3 separate regions of the Homo sapiens genome follow, and regions 1 and 3 are each linked to region 2. Evidence: promoter capture Hi-C in human tissues and cell types (Jung and others, 2019). All regions are on one chromosome and are shown on one strand. The core of a region is centred on a gene start or on the middle of the fragment in contact, and the rest is flanking DNA. Distances in the headings are between cores, read along the strand shown.

Region 1 (3,543 bases), core at 230-2,729, 820 kb before region 2:
AAAATAGATTCCCAGGCTCCCCTCCAATTAAGACAGCAGGTCAGAAGGTTGCAACTCAGGAAGCTTTACTTAATGTCTAGAAGTTTCCCAGGATATTCTGATGCATGAACCGTACTTGAAACAATAGTCAGACATTGCTACTTATCAGCTGTGTGATTTGGGGCACTCTGAGCTTGTTTCCTCATCTGTAAAATAGCGGGGAAGTAGGGGAGTGTCACAAGGTCTTAGAAAGGACCACATGAGGGAATGAGTGCAAAATTCTTAAATGATGCCTCAGTAAGTGAAATTATGATGCTAATTACAACGAATGTCCTTAAAAAGCTACTTTTCACTTCCAATAGTCCAGCTTGCAAAACCTTCCTCTATCAGAGAAAAATTTAGTGAAAGAGTAAATGGGCTTCACACCAGGATGATAGCCTGGAAAAATCAAAAGAGACATTGAGACATTGCCCACATAGAAAGCAGGGGAAGAGCATGTTCAGTTTTTCTGAAGGTCTATATTCTTCATTCCTACTGTCCATTTCTCCTGATTAAAAGTCTCTCCCAATAGCTGAGACCATTAACAAATATAAGCCCATCAAATGGTAGCTACCCCACTTTGTAAAATTAGGCTTTTGTGTCTCTCATAGAATAATGTTCTAACACTTCACTACCTGTAATAAAGTATTTGCACCACAAGAAAAAAATGTATTTCATGACCAGCAGGCTACAACCAGCATTCTGCTTTTAGGAACCCATGCGTTTGATTGTATCCTAAGTTGGTAATGAGTCACCACTTTTGCATTTAGTTAAGGACACCAAACAATGACTCTGTGAACCTCAGCTCAGACTGCCCCTGAGTCCTCAGAAGATGCCTAAATATGGACTGTTCTGTAGCGCTTAAGGATATCAAATGACAGTATACCATGACAATCACAACTAATCGAAGTCCCCTGCAGAGTAGTTCCTCATAAAGAGATGGAGATGGAAAAGTAGGAACGTTTTTCAATGCTATGCAGAAGGAAAATAATACCTACTGACCATATTCATCCTTTCAAAGGTCTGCCCTGAAGGCAAGTTGACAACACCCAGGCTTGGTTCTCCCTTTTGGAAGAGCTAACGCTAGGAGAGTTCACCCTTGCTCCCTCTGGCGGGAATCAGCAGAACAGAGCGGGAGGCACTGTGGCATTAGGATTGCAAACCCTGGCTTCGGACACAGTGCTGCTTGAATCAGAATCTACACTGCAGCTGGGCAACTGGCTGAGGTCACATTTTTAGGCTCTGAGCTGCTTTCTCTATTTGCAAAGTGAGAATACACAGCTTCTAAGGTCATAATGCAGATCAAATTATATATAAAGCACTTAACATGTGCTCAGTAAAAAGTCATTGATCTAATTATTGTTGTACTTTATTGTCATTAATATCAAGGGAATGACAGCATAGTGAGTCTCCTAGGGATGCAGGTCAATAGATGTTGAACTGCTATTATGCAGCAGGTACTGTGCTAGGTCCTGGGTAATACCAGAGCAAACAAGATCAACACAATCTGCACCTCCAGGAAGCTTATGGTCTAGTTCAGAGGTAGGAAAAATGTGTTTTGTTTGGCCTGCACCTTGTGTATAAACACAAAACATAGAGCAAACATTTTAAACTTGGATGACTTCACACCACAGTCCAGATTTCTGGCTTCTCTTTGAAAACATCAGAAATTCTGAGAGTAAGGGAGATTTCTGTCCACATGCCAAGCCTTCTAAGTCCCAAAGCACCAACCTTCCACTGGAGAGTGGCCTGCTGGCTCTTCTCATTAAGAAAAATCTCCCTCTGGCTACACATGATGAGGGGCCTGGAGGAATTAAGAGAGATGAGGTAGCTGAGGACACAGGTCCAGGGGACCAGAACTGAAGCAAGGAAGGAGAAAGGAGACTCAGCGCTGGTTCTCTTTCACGGGGTTTTTTTGTCTCTCAGCTCAGCTCGCTCTGTTTGGCTGGACACAGAAAACCCTGGAGGAGAATTCTGATTCCAACTTGCTCTTTGCACAGTTAATTATTTGGAGCTCCCAGAAGGTTGGAGAGAACAATGACTTCCCCTGCAGTGGCAGCTGGACTAGCTTAGTTCCCTTTTCTGCCCCCAGGGGTCAGAACCCAAGGAAGGGGGGCTATTTGTTTTGGCCTTAAACCAAATCTGCCTAGAGACACAGAGCGATGCTCTGACCTGAGACCACAAAAGCTACTATTTCAATGCCTGGTAAAGCTCCTCTCTCTTGCCGTCCACAGCAGTCTACTGACGAAAAACGCGTTTTCCCTATGCAAACTGTTTACTTCTCTCCTTTGCAAATTGGAAGTAATGTAAAAAAAAAAACAAAACAAAACAAAAAAAAAAAAAAACAGAAAGAAAAGAAAAGAAAAAAACCTATATGCACAAGAATTCCATCTCTCCTTGCAAATAAGATATTTCACATTTCCTTAGGCAGATAGCATGCAGACAAGTAGGGGAACTAATTGGGATGGATCAGTGAAAACAACGAAAGCTCATTTATACACAACTTGCTAAGTGTCCACAACTTTGTTCTAATAGGGGATCCATGACAAGTCCCTCAAAAACAGAGAAACAGGAGAGAATAATTTACACTTTATAGTTGTGAGCCCTGTAACAGTAGAACAACCTTCCTGCAGTCCCAGAGAGATTGTCCCCACATCTAACCAAAACCATTACCATCAATGGTGTCCTGCATTTTGAACAGTTGTTAATGAAGTCTTGCCTGACCCAATACAGAGTGAAATGGGTGTAGTTGCTGCTACAGGCTGCCTTCTAGCCTTCCTGCATCTGAATACATTTTCTCTGTTGGCTGTTCTGATAGAGATTCATCTGGAATTCTTAACTAGATAAATCCCTCAATGACAAGGTAAGGCCCATCTTCTGATTAAACTTGTATTGAATTTATTTATTTGGCCAATCATGTAATCCATATTTATTAGGTACCTTTTAAGCACCAAGCATTGTGCTGAGTGACGGGGATATCAAGGTGAGTCAAAACAACCATAGTCCCTGTCCTTAGAAGTCCAGAGGGGCTGGGTGCAGTGGCTCACACCTGTAATCCCAGCTTTTAGGGAGGCAGAGGCGGGAGGATAGCATGAGCCCAGGAGTTTGAGACCTGCCAGGGCAATATAGGAAGACCCCATTCTCCACAAAAAGGGGGAAAAAAGCAAGTCCAGAGAAAAGGAAGCTACTAATCAAAAGATCTCACAAATATAAAACTGACCCTCTGAAAGGTGTATAAGAAGTATTTTGGTACTAGGAGGCTCTATTACAAAGAGTTCGTCTAGATATGGGGTGGCAGATAATTTGTCTCAGAAGAAACAGTACTTGAGCTGACATTTAAAGCCAGGGGAAAAGCATCATAGGCAGCGGGAATCAAACACTCAAAGGCCTTGCCGTGAGGCTGAGCAGTAAACATAAGGACTGAATAAAGACCAGTGAGATTGGTGTGGAGAATGCAAGGAATAGAGTGATGAAGATGGAGAGTTGGTAGGGACCGTGCAAGGCCTTGTGGAGCACTTCAAAGAT
Region 2 (3,906 bases), core at 659-3,158:
GTAATCTAACTTGAGGAACGAATATCCCTCATTACAACACTTCCAAGAAAAATGGCCCTCGCAATCCTTTATAAAGAAGTCAGGATTCCAATAAAACCAGGAAGGACCACATTCCAAAGCAAACAAACTCGCCTCATTCCCCACCCTGGGGGAGGGTGTTCACCCCCGTTCTGCTAAAGATAGAGCTAGGGCCCTCCCCAGGAACTTCCTGGCTTTTATTAGTTTGTAATCCCATACGTAACTTTTCAAAGGTTTTTCTTTTGGAAGTGTGGGTGTGAAAATGCTTCCTTAATCACATCGAACGGGAGGATCTCCGACCATCTGTACTTTATTTGAAAACCTAGCATCCGGTTGGGATGTTTGGGTGGGTGGAGGACCCTGCCGTGTTGGGATGAAACAGCAGGGACACGTTTAAAACACAAGAACCATGCGCGGTGGCTCACGCCTGTAATCTCAGCACTTTGGGAGGCTGAGGCAGGCGGATCACAAGGTCAGGAGTTCGAGACCAGCCTTGCCAAAACGGTGAAACCCCGCCTCTACAAAAAAAACCAAAATAAAACAAAAAACAAACAAAAAAAACCACCAAAAAAATAATCAGCCGGGCGTGGTGGCGGGCGCCTGTAGTCCCAGCTACTCGGGAGGCTGAGGCAGGAGAATCGCCCGAACCCGGGAGGCGAAGGTTGTAGTGAGCCGAAATCGAGCCACTGTACTCCAGCCTGGGCGACGGAGCGAGACTCCGTCTCAAAACAAAACAAAACAATCCCACGTCAAGATCGCTTTGAAACACAGGCAGAAAAATTAGGCAAAAAATGTCAAACGGCTAATTACCTTGGCTCAGTTACACATTTACTCGAAAGCCCGCCTCCCCCACTTTTAGCCCCAGCGTTAAGAATGTAAAATAGGGCGCTTAGAAGTCTAAGCGATAAAGATCTTCTTACCGAGAGCCAAGGGACAAAACTCATTACAGATAAGCCTAGTCCTCCCATTTCCCCCGGACGCCTCTCCCCGATTGCTAAAGAAGCAGCCGCTCCCCGGGTAGCTGCCAGGAAATCAGTCCGGCCCCGCGGCGCTGCTTTCACCCTGCAGGGTGTAAGAGGCGCACTTCCTGCGCCCTCCCCGCGGCCAAACCGGGGTGCGGGAACCTTCTCCAGAGAAGCTGCGAGTTGGGGAAACTCCGCCACCGATCCATCGTGGCGCCGGGAAAGGGGATGCGGGGCTCGGAAGGGCTAGATTTCGCAATCCTGGGATCGACATTCCTCCCCTCCCCCACTTTCCCCAGCCTTGGACTGGGCCAATGAAAGCCCGAAAAAGAAAAAAAAAAAAAATTAAATCTCAATGTAGCCGGAGTGCAAAGGCCGCTCGGCTTTGTTTCCCGGCGGGGGAATGCGCTGTGTTGGAGGCGCGAACAGGAGCCGCAGACGGTGAGCCTCACCGCTGCAAATGCCAGGGCAGTGAAGCCGAACAGAAAACCCCATCGCTTTAAAAAGGCAGCTGTCCGCCCTCCCCCTTTCCCCTCGCCAGGGCGAGGGGCCCCTCAAGTCCGGGATCCGCGAGCTGCGCGGAGGATCTCGCCAAACCCGAGCACCGTGCGGCGTCTTTTAAGAGCTCGAACAACGGGAATCCAGCAAAAAACAAGCCGGCCCCAGAAGGCAGCCTCCCTCCTCTCTCCGCGCACGGGCTACAATCGCCCCCAGTCCCCAAACTGTCCCAGTAGAGGCCGCGCGGAGAGAGCAGAGCCGAGGGACCCAGCGCAAGGCGGGAGCCAAGCGCGGCTGCTTTAAGAACGCGGAGAGCGCGCGCCCGCCGCCAGCTGGCCCGGGCTGCGCGCCCCCGCCGCCACCGCGCGCCCCCTGTTCGCTCGCTCCTTCGCTCGCCGGCTTTAAAGTCTCTGCCAGGATCCATGCTCACATGTTACTTCCTGTATGGAGGCATGGCCAGTTTCCAGCCCCGCGCTCTTCGTTCCTTCCCAGCCTGCGCCGGAGCCACAACTTTCAGGAGCATGGACTGAAGGCGCCCTCGCCCCAGCGCCCCTCTGAGATCCTTTGTGTTTTCCTCCGTTTCCTCCGGCCGTTTCTATTTTGGGGGGCTCTCCGCTCCCCCTGCCTCTCCCCTCCCCTTCCCCTCTCGCAAACATGCCTCCTTCCTTCCCGGGGCCCTGGAAGGAGCTGCCTGCCTGAAGCCCGGAGACGCCGCGCCGCGCTCAGCCCCGCCGCCGCCCGCCGGCTCTCGGGCTGTGCTGCGCTGCCGACTCAAGTTGGGGATCCTCGGCTGCTCGCCGCCGCCGCCCGCGGTCCCTGCCTGCCCCAGGCCCGGGGCATCGCCGCCGGCCGCCGACTCCGCGCCCTGCCCGATCGGCTCTCTCCTTTTTAAACGGAAAGCAGCCTTTCTCCGCCGAGAGGATCGTCCCCAGCGTGGCTCTGCGTTCCCGGTCACTTTTTGAGATTTTCCGGGGGGCGCTCGGCGGCTTCCCGGATTCCAAGGGGACTCGGGCCGCCGAGCGCGGGGGGCCCGTGGAGCGGGCGAGCCGGGGAAGCGCCCCGGCTTAGCGGAGGCTCGCACGGAGGCAAGAACTTATTCAACAAGTTTACCTCCCTGCTTTCCTCTTTTCGATGTGCGTTTTCGGACATGCGGAGGTTACTGGAACCGTGTTGGTGGATTTTGTTCCTGAAAATCACCAGTTCCGTGCTCCATTATGTCGTGTGCTTCCCCGGTGAGTGCCGGCCGCCGAGGGGATGCGGCCCCGGCCGGCGCGCGTTGGGGATGCGGAGTTGTCGCCTGGGCGCGGAGCTCCGGCGCCCGTCCGGGAGACCCTGGAGAGGGTGGAGGGTGGCCCGGCGCCCGGATAGGAGAAAAGGATTGCTCCGCTGGCTTGGATGATGTTTAGGGAGGCAGGCTAGTGGTCGAGGAAGGTGGAGGCAGGGGCTGGCCGGGGAGGGGGCTGGGGGACGCGGGGGTCTGCTCCCGCTCCCTTTTGGGGGTCCTGGGGAGCTGGAATCGGGAGAAAGGGGGACTTGCTTTGCTGACTCGTCGCCGATCGGGAGAACTCGAGTTGTGGGGCGGTTGGGGAGACTGAGGCCATGGAAAGGATGCTTCTGTGGGTTTGGGGGGCCCGGGATGAGCCCCCTCGCTCTGGCGGGTATTGAAGGAACTCAGAAGGTGGGGGTTTGCTTTGCTGTTCTCCATCCCTTTGGGAGGGCTAGGTTTCGGGGAATGGAAGTCGGAGGCTGGCTGCGGAGGACTGAGGATGTGTGGGGAGCAGCCTGCGTTCTGGGTCGGGGGCGTCCTCCCTCTCTCTGGGGGCTGGGGCGCGGGCAGCACTTCGGTGCCGGCGTGAGGCAGCCTCCTTGGGCGCAGTGAGACGGCAGGGCGCAGGCGGTTTCGGAGAGATCCGTGTCTCCCCTAGCCCCGGCCCGTGGCCCTTTCCCTCCGCTGCTCTGCTCGATTGGATTGCCTGGGTCTGGACGCGGGGAGGGGGCGGGGGCGGTTTCGGCGGCCGGGGCGGTTTCGGCGGCCGGGTTGCTGTTCGCGCCGGGGCTGATTTTTTTCCTGTCTCGCGCGCCCTGCCTACCTTCATCTTTGCCCTTTTGCAGGCTGTTCGCGGCTGGCAGACCCAGTCTCGCTCCTTTCTGGCCAGGTTAAGACAGGAACAATACTGGCCGTTGATAAGAATAAATCACCGCACGTAACGGTGTGCGGCTCGGCGACCCTCCACTTCCAGCTCTCAGCTGGCAGTTCCCCCTCCTCTCTCCCCTGGGGAGGGCAGAGGCCAGCTGCCTCCCTCTCCTCTCTTGCAGGTCCCCCGGGCAGCAGCCCCGAGCTCCCTCGTAGCTGTCCCTTGGGGTGGAGGCCAAGTCCTGCCCTAGCCCGGGGAAGGGCTGGAAGAAGGGGTGATTTGCTTTTCATCCC
Region 3 (3,688 bases), core at 152-2,651, 720 kb before region 2:
GAAAGAAAGTCATTTTACTAAAACCAGTAAAGGGGAAATGGTCAGATTCCCGCCCAAAGCAATCACTTTGATTTTGGGGGAAGGCAGGGGTTTAAAAAGGGAAAACTTGATAAGGAAGGCATGCAAGAATTGTACTAAGTATAATATCTGTGTGTCTTGTTCTGGTAGCTATCTTGGGTCTCAGTCTACCTGGATGGTGAGTCAAGACATCTGGGAATATCTTTACTTCCCCTTTATTCCTGAGGATATTTTCACGGGCTGTAGGACACTGCTTTGATTGTTGATTATTATTTCATTCAGGACTTTGAATGCTTTAAGTTCCTGAGCAGCCATGGCCAGGTTTTTAACTAGCCACTTTGAAGTAATCTCTGGAATTTTGCAGCTGGGTCTCCAAGCTTATTCCGCCTGTCTCAAGATTAGCCCCTGGAACTTCTAAGAAGGCACAGTAATTAGATACTAGTATATACTTAGACAAATGTGAAGGGAGTATATATGGTGAAAAAGGGAGGGACGTGGAGCCTATTTCTAGGCTGAGGAAAAGGCTTCTGCAGTTTTTCAAGGTTGTATCTTGAAAACCAAGAGAAGAGAAAAAAATGTTTTAAAATGCATTTGGAAGTTAAGTTGCCTAGTTACAATATTGGTAATTTGTGTCTTTTCTCTTTTCTTTGTCAGTCTTGCTAGACTGTCAGTTTTATTAACCTTTTCAAAGAACCAGCTACTCTTGTTTTCCTTTGATTAAAGTTTGCATGATACATCTTTTCCCATTATTTTACTTTCGTCTATTGTTATATTGAAAGTGAGCTTCTCATAGACAGAATATAGTTGGGTCATATTTTTTAAACAATTCTGCTAATCTCTTCCCTGTATTATAAGTGGTATATTTAGACCATTTAACTTTAATGTAATTATTGATATTTTAGAATTTACACTGCCATTTTATTTTTTGTTTATTTTCTGTTTGTTCTCTTTGTGGTTTTCTGTTTTCTTTGCCCAGACTTCTTATAAGCTATTTGAACACTTTTTGGAATTCTGTTTTGATTTATCTAAAGTGTCTTTCAGTGCATTTCTGTATATAATTTTTTAAAGGTTTCTCTAGGTATTACTTTATATATTTATAACTAAACAGTTTACTGGTGTCATCATTTTACCAGTTTGAGTAACATATAGAAACCCTATCTCCGCACTTTGCATCCCTTTATCTTCCCCATTTATAATATAATTATTTTAAATACTTCCTTTACATGCATTTACATCCACATCAGAATATTGCAATTTTTGCTTCAAACTTCAAACACAATTAGAGCTCTCAAGAGTACAAATGTTTTTGCTATGTTTTTTTCTTCCTTTCTGATGTTGAAGAGATCCATTTTTAATTGTCTTCTTTCCAATTAGATAACTCTTTTCTTTTCTTTCGAGGCAGAGTCTCACCGTGTCATCCAGGCTGGAGAGTGCAGTGATGCAATTATGCAAATTCTTTTAGTTTTCCGGCTGGGCGTGGTGGCTCACGCCTGTAATCCCAGCACTTTGGGAAGCCGAGGCAGGCGGATTGCCTGAGCTCAGGAGTTCGCGACGAACCTGGGCAACACGGTGAAACCCGTCTCTACTAAAATACAAAAAATTAGCCGGGCGTGGTGGTGGGCGCCTGTAGTCCCAGCGACTCAGGAGGCTGAGGCAGGAGAATCGCTTGAACCCGGGAGGCAGAGCTTGCAGTGAGTCGAGATCGCGCCACCGCACTCCAGCCTGGGCGACAGAGCAAGACTCCGTCTCAAAAACAAAAACAAAAACAAACAAACAAACAAACAAAAAACACAAATTCTCTTAGTTTTCCTTCATCTGATAATATTTTTACTTCCCCTTTATTCCTGAGGATATTTTCACAGGCAATAGGATACTGGCTTGACTGTTGATTGTTATCTGCATTCAGGACTTTGAAAGCTTTAAGTTCCTGAGTCTCAGCAGAAACTCAAAAATAATACATGTAGGAAGAGCTAAAAAAATATACAATAAACCGGATCCTATCGAATTTAAATGTCACCAGGCTACAAGAAACTGATTCTGGCAGAAAAAATAAACATGTGAAAAATAATTACAATAATGTGTGATAAGTGCAAAAATGCAGGTATGTACTTGTCACGATGCTGACACACAGAGAGAATCAGCACTGCTTGAGAGAATCAGTGAAAACTTCTCAGAGATGTGTGAACCAGGTTCTGAAAGTTAGGTAGTAAAAGGACTTCCTGGGTGAAGGGGAACCCAGCACGAAAGCCCTGAGAAAAGCGGAAAAGATGGTACATTTGAGAATCTGTGAGACTGAATGCCTGGCTGAGGTATAGAACACCCATTGGAACAAGCAAGAGATGCAGTAGAAAAGACAGCTAAGGGAAGGATGCTGGGCTAGAGGGCCTCATCCTCTACTAAGGAGTAAACTTTATCCTGTGTACCACGAGGAGCTACCGAACAGACGAAAATGGTGAGTGTAATATTTAAAGCAATGATTGCTACTATAACACTCTTTTTAAAGTAGCTTTTCCATGAATTATTAACATTATCTTTAGTCTAATACGTATCAAAATTTAGTTTATGGACTGGTAGGATGTGTTAATGGCCAATAAAAGTAAAAGACTCAGCCGATTCCCTGCCTTCTACACTCCATTTTACACACACTCCATCCTGCCTGCCGAATGACTTCAGTGTCTCTGTGACCAGTGAGTGAAGCAGCATGCAATGAGATCATGGCTAGATGGCAGCACATTCAGTGAAGTGCTTCAGCTTTCCTGTTGCTTCTGATTCCCTGGCATTTGTCAGTGTCTGTCAAAACATTAACATTTCTTAATGTATATTTTGCATTATTTACTAAATGAAAATTTTCCAATGACAGTGGCTGAGAAAAAAAAATCAGATTTACATACAGTATGTCAAGTTCACATTCGATGCCCCAGAAATGCCCAGTCCCCAAAGACCTCTAGGGACTGCAGCTCATTTGTTGTCCCTCTCCCTCTCCCGTTTATTATGCTGACCCTCTGCCCAGCCACATAGCTCACCCCACCCCCTTAGAAGCATCTAGAGTTGGCTCTAGACATGAAATGGAATAGATTTCTGCATTTACATAACTGCTATCGCACTTCTGGTGAAAAGTAGTTTCAGAAAAACACAGAAAAAAATAAACAGAAGAATAAAAAGTGTCTATGTGATAACATAAGGGCTTATTTAACTACGTCTTTATTTCCTTTACAGTCCAACTATTTTTTTTTTAAAACTGCATGCCACCTTCATGCTGCCTCTCAGAGGGGACTTGATCTTATTTAGACCCGGTGGCGAGGGTCCTTCAGCTCCGTGAGGAGCTCTCTAGCACTCAGTCCTCTTTAGAGGAAAGATATCTTCAGAGCCTAAAGGCCTTGAAAGAAATGACACATTTTTAAAAACAGAAAAACAAGCATGAAAGTGGCCCATCAGAAATGAAGGTGTGAACTAGAATACAATAGACAGCGAGGAAGGAGCCAAAAATCCTCACCCAGGCAGGCCAGGATATATGCAGATAGGGAGGAAATTGGGAGGCATTCCTTTGCTAATAAAGATGATTTTTCTTCTAATTTTCACATCTTTCATGATGTATCTTTTGTTTTTTGTTTTCTCTCTATGACTGCTGTTCTAAAATAAGTGGGCTTTAAGAATATGAACTACAGTCCGC

The links. Contacts are between HindIII fragments. The study calls those that stand out against the background at their distance.
Region 1: a fragment that was not itself captured here is called in contact with the fragment with the promoter of PTPRG in region 2 in 1 of the 25 tissues and cell types used here (thymus).
Region 3: a fragment that was not itself captured here is called in contact with the fragment with the promoter of PTPRG in region 2 in 1 of the 25 tissues and cell types used here (thymus).

What each region holds. Positions count from the first base shown.
Region 1 is chr3:60,741,921-60,745,463 of GRCh38, forward strand. The region is part of intron 4 of FHIT (fragile histidine triad diadenosine triphosphatase); the gene reads right to left. Among named protein-coding and RNA genes, the nearest start is that of MIR548BB, 130 kb to the left of the region's middle. The HindIII fragment of the contact is 4,055 bases long and covers 1-3,507 here.
Region 2 is chr3:61,559,663-61,563,568 of GRCh38, forward strand. It overlaps PTPRG (protein tyrosine phosphatase receptor type G), which reads left to right and starts at 1,909. Exons shown (of 30, transcript NM_002841.4): 1 at 1,909-2,710. The coding sequence starts at 2,626. RefSeq lists an enhancer at 11-686. The HindIII fragment of the contact is 9,021 bases long and covers 1-3,906 here.
Region 3 is chr3:60,836,705-60,840,392 of GRCh38, forward strand. All of the region lies in intron 3 of FHIT (fragile histidine triad diadenosine triphosphatase), which reads right to left. Among named protein-coding and RNA genes, the nearest start is that of MIR548BB, 220 kb to the left of the region's middle. The HindIII fragment of the contact is 4,995 bases long and covers 1-3,688 here.